3 separate regions of the Homo sapiens genome follow, and all the other regions are linked to region 1. The links are contacts of gene promoters, found by promoter capture Hi-C in human tissues and cell types (Jung and others, 2019). All regions are on one chromosome and are shown on one strand. Each heading gives the region's core, a stretch centred on a gene start or on the middle of the fragment in contact. The rest is flanking DNA. Distances are from core to core; before and after follow the strand shown. Region 1 holds the start of NDNF (neuron derived neurotrophic factor). Region 2 has its middle 45 kb from the start of TNIP3. Region 3 has its middle 41 kb from the start of NDNF-AS1.

Region 1 (2,548 bases), core at 19-2,518:
CTCCGGAAGAAAGTATGAGCCGGTCCCAGGCCACCTCGCTCAGCCCAAGGAAGTTTCTATAACGATGCTCGCCTACCACGCAGAGGACAAATGAGGAGCCAGAGCGGTTGGGGGTCGGGCCAACCGAACTCCCGGCCCCGGCTGCGCAGCTCCCAGACGCCCACCAAGAACTCGTGCGCTGCCTGGACCTCTAGCTTTTCGCCCTACACGCAGACGCCCTCTGCAAAACCCCAGTCCCGCAGACTTTCCCTAGCGGCGGGCGGAGGGCATGAACCTGGAAAGGGAGGCAACAGCCCTCTTGGCAGGCGGGCAAAGTAAGTGTCCAGGCTAAGTCCGGGATAAAGGCTCCGCGGCTCCCCAGACCCCACTGCACCCCGAGCTCCCGGGTCCCAGGTCTTCCCCGCCCTTGCGCTGTCTGTCCACCTCCTCACATCTCTCCGGGCCGCCCAGCTTCGAAAGCAGCTAAATTAAAAACAAACAAACAAACAAACAACAACAACAATAAAAAAAAAAAAACGAGGGAAACCTGCTCCTGCCCCTCATGCCCTCAGCTCCTACGGATAGGGCGCCCTTGAGAAGCTTCTTGGGCCTTGAAGATTTGGGGGCGCGTGCCTCGAGCCCCCATCTCGGATGACCCTTCGGGCGTGAACGCTCCTTGTGCTAGGTCTCAGGGTGGCGGGCTAAGGCGTCGGGTCTCTGGGGCATTGCTTTCCTCTCCCCACTTACCTTAAAAAGATCTGTTTTTCGTAGGGAAAATAGAAAAAAATCCCTCCCCGTGGTGTGGTGTGCGAAATAGTCCACGTCCCCGGACCCTGCCAAGATGCTAAGCACCAATATCCAGGAACGAGAAGCCTGGAGGGCGGGGACGGAGGCAGATAAAAGAGAAAAATTCAATCCGCTGAAGTGTCCCAACTTTGCGGTCGGCACAGCAAACTTCAAAGGCGGGCGAGGGCGGGCGGCGCGCGGTCGCCGAAGTTGCTGCGAAGTGGAGTAGGGAGCCGCGCGGGGCTGGGGAATCCCGGGGCAGCGCCGAGAAGCGGCGGGAGGTCCTTTTAAACTGCAGGGAGCGTGCGGGGGCTGGGCGGCGGGAGGATGCCGCAGCGACCCGCGGGGCTGGCGCGGGCTTCGCCGGCCGCCGCTAGTCGCACAGGCGCCTGGCTGGAGCGCCGCGCGGGGTGCTGGGAGAGCCGGGCGCACGGGGCGGCAGCGGCCGTGGCGGGTGCGCTGCTCAGTTAGCTCCACTCTCTCGCGGCTGGAAGTGGGGAGTGTGTGTTCGCTCCCGAGTGTCACTGCTGAAGCCCGGAGTCTCTTCCCCTCCCAGCCCTAACCCCTCCCGCCTCACCGCTGCCCGCCCGCCCCCTCCCTCCTCTGCCCGTTGCCTCCCCCTCCGTCCCTCCTTCTCTCCCTCCCGCTGCGCGCCAGCGCGCACGCACACACACACACACACACACACACTCATACACATACACACACTCACACACAGACACCCTCTCCCTCCTTTTCTCTCTCCCTGTAGCCCTCCCTCCCTCTCTTTCTCTCACACACACACCACCCTGCTCAGCGACCCAGCGCTCCCCAAACAGGACCCTCGCGGGCGGCATCGCGAGGGACACGCTGCTGTCCTAACCTTAGCGCCACTCGGGGAGAATGAAGGAGGCCCACCGAGCCCCCGACAAAGCTGCAAAACCCAGGAGACGCGCACGCGGGACCATCACACTGTCAAGCAGACCGGGGTGCACAATAGAGGGAAACTCTGGGGTTGATCTGGGGGCAGGGAGGGGGACGTGTTAAATCCAGAAGGTTGGTGGTTGGAGGCGGAAAGCAGAGTGTGCAAACTGTGCATTCATGTCCCACTTTTCACCCGAACGCCTGCCTATCACAGCCTTCACTCAGGGAGCGCTTCCCCCTCGGCGCAGACCGAGCCTCCTCCGATTTGAAACTCAGCAGCTGTTTTAACAATTGAAAAAGCGGCCCTACAGGACCAGTGAAACGGAGCAGAGTGTGTGAAGCCATTAAGGCTGACTAGGTAATTATGATAAAAAGTTACCTAATTAGCAACCTGGCCTGGGCTTAGGAAAACCAAGAAAAAAAAAGTACCGAATGATTTGGTGATCTCATTTTTGCAACTGAGAACCTGATTTCCAGCAAACCTGGTTTTATATAAGTTCTAATAATATATAATTATTTATTAAGATATAGTGTCAGTATTGAAAACACTAGTTCTGTTATTGCCACAATGAAATTAAGGTAGGTAGGATGAAAATCAGCCTTATCCCGGTCATATTAAGAACTATGATCTTTTTTGCTAAACAGTTGGTCACAGAGGGTGGACCAATGCAGCTCCTAAAGTTTTGTGGTTCCTAGATGAAAACACTGCAGGAAATGGATTTATAAAACCGTTTACACGACATAAAATAGTTTTGTAAAATTTTTAAACACTGAAAAGGACATTTCAGATCACTGTGCAAGCATATTTTTTGCAGATGAGACAATGAGGTGAGAAAAGTCCTCATTGTATCTCCACTTAGGAGATACGATCTAGAGCAGA
Region 2 (2,548 bases), core at 22-2,521, 47 kb after region 1:
ATGCTAGGATTTCAGGCGTGAGCCACTAGGGTTTTATATTTTTAATTTACCATCTATTCCATCTATAATATGTTCTTCAGCTACAATGTATCTTCAAAACATTTTTTTTTAGAACTTCACATGAGTGATATATTTTCTGAGCTCCTATATACAGTGTGTGTGTGTGTGTGTGTGTGTGTGTGTGTGTGTGTGCGTGTGTGTGTGTGACAGAGAGAGAGAGAGCATTCACGCATGTTACAAGATTTTGGCAAGTACATTGGTTCACAATATTTTTTCTGCAAAACTTTATGGGACTTCTCCCTCACTTTTGGGAGCCAGTCTGGCCACAGAGGGATACTGTTTCCATGTGGAAGGCTCAGTGATGCATCCCTGGCCCTGTGAGGGCCGTGCAGTCCAACATCACTGGTTCTGGATCAATAAGAGGAGTTCCACGTGAAGTGTAATCTTCAAAACACCCAAGGCAGTGATAGCCAGTGGAAAAGGAAGAAGGAAAAACATCTTTTCATCTTAGGAAAGTTTGTGAAGAGCAAAAAACAAATGTAGTGATTTTGATGAATGTCAGGAGCATAACAAAGCAAAGACAAGCCCCTTTCCCTTGTGGGCTATTGGAGCTGATTTGATGCAATTGAAGAATACTGTACAGAGAAGCTTCTTCTGCTGTGAACTATGTGCTAAGATCCAGAAACTCAAGAAAACAACTTAATGACTCTTATTCCAGGAAGAGCATGGCAATTTTCAGAAAAGTGTTCTCTGCTGGCCTGGTTGAGGGTCATGATGCAGCTAGAGTGGCTGCTAATTTACCAAAGATGGCTTCGATGCTTCAAAGACATTGACACTAAGGCTGGTTTCTGGCTGCGATATTCCTGGGGTTCCCAATGAATGAAGCTAATTGGTTTTGCTCAGAGTGACAGGTGATGACTGCTCTTTGATGTCTTCCTTTCTCCACCTCACCAATCAACCTCCTACCTTCCCTCTTTCTGCCTACTCCCTCTTCCTCCTACTTCCAGACACTTGTGAAAACAGGAGATTGTGAAAAGACCAGCTTAGATGAGAGGAGGAGAAAAAGAATTTGTTTTTAAGCTTATTACATTCTGAGTTCAGTTTCTTATTCTAGCAATCCACAGTGCAAGAACATGAAAATGCCACACCTGTCTGGCTGTTGCTAACTTTTCCAAGCTGCCATATTCTTAGTAGTGAATTTGGATATCTTTTATAAAGAATCTGAAATGCACTTAGATGTCATGTTTATAGGTGCAAAAACACTTTCAGAAAGTTATCTGAAGAAATTTCTTTTTATCATAAGCTTAGTTCTTTCACTGTTAAATTTCTGTTAGGATACTTCAATTGTCCATCTGACTATTTTATGGTATACTTAGAATTGAACAAATACGTTAAATTAGGATTTACTAGACAAAGTAGAACGTTTGTTTTAAAATTGTGAGATTTATAAAAGTTTTCACAGATTTAGCTACAAAGGAAAGAACACTTGGAGTATATACTTCCTATCAGTAATTTCCTGTCACTTAAACAACAGTTTCAAGTATATTTTTGACATATTTGTACTTCCATTTTTTTAGGATCTGAGATGCATATTTTGTGAAAACTGATTGACAGCCTGATTGTCTCTTGAAAATTGTAGGTGCTTTGCAGGCCTTAATATCAGGAACATTCCTGAAGCTAATTTACTCTGAAATATTGTCAGACCTTCCAAATTTCTCTATGTTAACATGTAAGTTAGGCTTCATCAGGATGCCTAAAAACTATAATATGAGATCAAAAGCTGTCATTCTGCTAGATTGCTAACTCTATAACCACATTTGTGATTTAGCTTCTCCTTAAGTGATATAATTTGCTTTTCTAAAGGAGATAATCTTAAAAACACTGGAATCAGAGTTTTACTTAAAATTCTTCAGAACTGCAAAATGAAAATTATAAAAAGGATTTTGTGTAATGGCCAAAAGGCAAAATGCTCTTAGTTTTCAAAAGTAAACACTTCTGACTCAAGTGGTCCTCAACTTTGAATTGTGGCCTGTAGAATACGAAACTGATAAATCTTCAGAATTTCAAAATTGAAAGATAAACTCTCAGAGAGGCAGACTCCTTGAATGTGCCATTGCTACATTCTAACTAACCCTAGATATGGTAGTACTTTGATGTATTTTTTTAAAGTGCAAGTACATTACTAAGAAATAAGGTACTTCTAATTGCTTACCATAAATTAAGATATTTTGGGACCATTTATATAAATTTAATGTAATTTCAATATTTTTCTCTAATTTAAACTGCCAAATTGTGACAGCTTTACTACTGTGTTTTATATAATGAGGGCAAGACTACTAGAGGCGCTGAAAGACCAAGGAATATATCGAAAATTAAAAGGAGCTTCAGTCTCCCTTTGCTTCATTGCATCGTCTCATGGCTGCTAATAATTTTCCTCTGACAATAGAAAACGTAGGAAATATCTCTATTTCTTTCTCATCACCCATCACTGTACATACAGTATAGTTTTCTGAAAATGAAAGAAACTTCTAATAAATGATATTGACAA
Region 3 (2,548 bases), core at 20-2,519, 43 kb before region 1:
CTTTGAAGTACATGAGGAAAAATTTATATAGAAACAAAAGTGTAATAAAGCAAATCACAAGAATGTCAATAGTAAGTATCTGATGTGCCATCAAAACAAGTGCTTTGTAGAACGAACACAAGTCTAACAAACTTTAAAAGTAGATTTGTGCCGATGAGTTCCTTGGAAAGCAGTCAGAGGATCTTTCCCAAAGGCAGTAAATAAGTATCATCCCTTCCTGCACTGGCGTTATCTAAAACCCTGAATTGGACACAGAACTGCACCCCATACTAGCTGCATGAAATTGGGGAAGTTACTTAACTTCTCTGACCCTTGGTTTCTTCATCAGTAAAATGTGGAAAATCAACAGTGTCTACTTCATAAGGTTGTTATGTGGATTAAAGAGATGCCTCAGCTCAGGCTATAACTATCATATCAGGATGTGGTATCTAATGAAGGCCCAGTAAACATCTGCTATTAAAAAATGATAACAGAAGTCAAACATGTGCAAGGGCAAAGCAGAAACAAAAACAAAGACAACCACAGACAACTCTTTATATGCTAAAAAACAAAAGCATTAAATAAAGGTTTATTAACATCATATTAAAGACACATTATGCCATATGTAAGCATTACATCAAACTCTATATAATAAGACACAAACAAATACCAAACAAAGTTTTTATGGTAGTATGAGTCACCATTAAAATGGGAAAGTTCTACACAATAAGAGCAACTTAGCAATACTTTGTCAATTATTCGTCTTCTGTCCCTAATGCTTGATATTTATCTATGTCAGAGAAAACTTGTTTATAAATATGCAGGCCAAGCTTTAATATACTTTGACTTTCTCCAGTTTTAGTAAGGGACTTGTCATGTATTCTATTCTGGTGAGATTCACTAAGTAGCACTAGAACTCACAAGCATACAGGTGGATGTGGAAAAACGCATTCATTTGGTACCAGATGTATCTGTGTTTAAATTCCAGCTCCATCTTGTATTAACTTTGTGACCTTGAGCACATTATATAATTTCTTTGTTCTTTGGGTTCCTCCTCTGCTTAATGAGAATACAATAATGTCTCCATCTCAGGGTTGTTACAAGGATTAAATAACGGTATTTCAAATGCTTGGCACTCAGTATGTGCTTAAAGGTTGTTAGTTTCCCTGCTTCTCCAAAAAGGAATCTAGGAGATCATCACCCTTCTCATTTTACAAATGAGAAAGCTCAAGCCCACAGAAGTTTAAGAAAATGCCCAAAGTCCCACTTCTGCACTCTTTCCTCTGCTGTCCTCTTATTAGCTTGCTTAACTTCAATAGAGAAGAGAAAACTCAGCAGAATCAAAAAGAATTCTTTTCCTCTTTTTAATATAGGTAAGCCACCAAGAGACTTTTAAAGTAGGAGTGAGTTTTATGAAAGGTAATAAGTAGTCTAAGAACTGTTTTAAATCCTCAGAGATATTAAAAACAGAAGTTCTGTTCTTCCAGTATTTCCATAGCAGAACATAAGTATTTTGTATGCTTTGGCACCAAAAAACTCCAGAACTGAGTATTTATCTGCACATTTTAACTCAAGCCTCCTGGAATGCTTGCCCATGGAATTGGCAAAGGAACTGGCATTCAGTATTTAGAGCAGCCAAGTTTGCTCAGACCACAGCTGTATTTGAAGCACAGCTCTCTGCCATTAGTCAATGGAACTTGCACAAAATTCAATTTAGATGTAAATGTTGTGATTCTTACCCAGCTTTCATATCTCTTTTATCTTTTTCCATACCTGATGATCACCCCAGGACAACCCAACAGAACCTGGGATCCTGTGCATAATAGAAGGCAAAATTCCGCAAGCTGTAATTTACAGCTTGACCTCTTTATTTGAAGAAGAATGACAAGCTTTATTCAGCAGGAAGGAGATATTCAATATTACTCTTTTAAAATAGTCAACCAAGAATCTGCTATTTCTTTAAAAATGTTTTTAAAGTTATATTTTACCATAATAAAACTGGTTGAATTTTATTTGGTTATTTAAAACATGTAAGTATGCTTGTTTGTCCCTCTCACTTAAAGTTCTTACCACATCCAGAAGAGCTGGAAACATCAAATGTTGCTGAAGCTACTGTAGCTACTGTGATACACGGAAACTCAACCATTGGAAATGGGCCATATTTGTGACTAGATCAGTTGCTGTTACCAAACTGCTCATGTAGCAATCTATGTCTATTGTTATAACTGTGACATTAGTTGAGCCACAATCTTGTTACTTCAGCCATATGGACCCACAGAGCGCAAACCAGGTCAGACAAATTCAGATGCCTGTGAGACATTTACCAGTGGTTCTTGAGGGTGGCATGCTTCTTCCAAAAACTGTTTGTTGGTCTGGCAATGTGGAAATTATCAGGCCTGCATGGTGAAAGGAACTAATATATTAATCCTATTTAAATAGGTCTGAGTTCATTTTATAGGAAAAGATGAGAATGAACAGTCAGTCAGACTTCTATGCCTATGATGTATTCATACACTTGGTTCTGTTTATTATAAACAATTTTTCTCAGAAACACACTACTGTCAGAGTT

Evidence for each region. Contacts are between HindIII fragments. The study calls those that stand out against the background at their distance.
Region 2: a fragment that was not itself captured here is called in contact with the fragment with the promoter of NDNF in region 1 in 1 of the 25 tissues and cell types used here (aorta).
Region 3: a fragment that was not itself captured here is called in contact with the fragment with the promoter of NDNF in region 1 in 3 of the 25 tissues and cell types used here (H1 embryonic stem cells, heart left ventricle and psoas muscle).

Annotation. Positions count from the first base shown.
Region 1 is chr4:121,071,267-121,073,814 of GRCh38, forward strand. It overlaps NDNF (neuron derived neurotrophic factor), which reads right to left and starts at 1,269. Exons shown (of 4, transcript NM_024574.4): 1 at 727-1,269. It overlaps NDNF-AS1 (NDNF antisense RNA 1), which reads left to right and starts at 96. Exons shown (of 3, transcript NR_187407.1): 1 at 96-314; 2 at 2,484-2,548. The HindIII fragment of the contact is 5,612 bases long and covers 1-2,548 here.
Region 2 is chr4:121,117,823-121,120,370 of GRCh38, forward strand. No RefSeq gene overlaps it. Among named protein-coding and RNA genes, the nearest start is that of TNIP3, 45 kb to the right of the region's middle. The HindIII fragment of the contact is 3,345 bases long and covers 1-2,548 here.
Region 3 is chr4:121,028,761-121,031,308 of GRCh38, forward strand. No RefSeq gene overlaps it. Among named protein-coding and RNA genes, the nearest start is that of NDNF-AS1, 41 kb to the right of the region's middle. The HindIII fragment of the contact is 4,458 bases long and covers 1-2,548 here.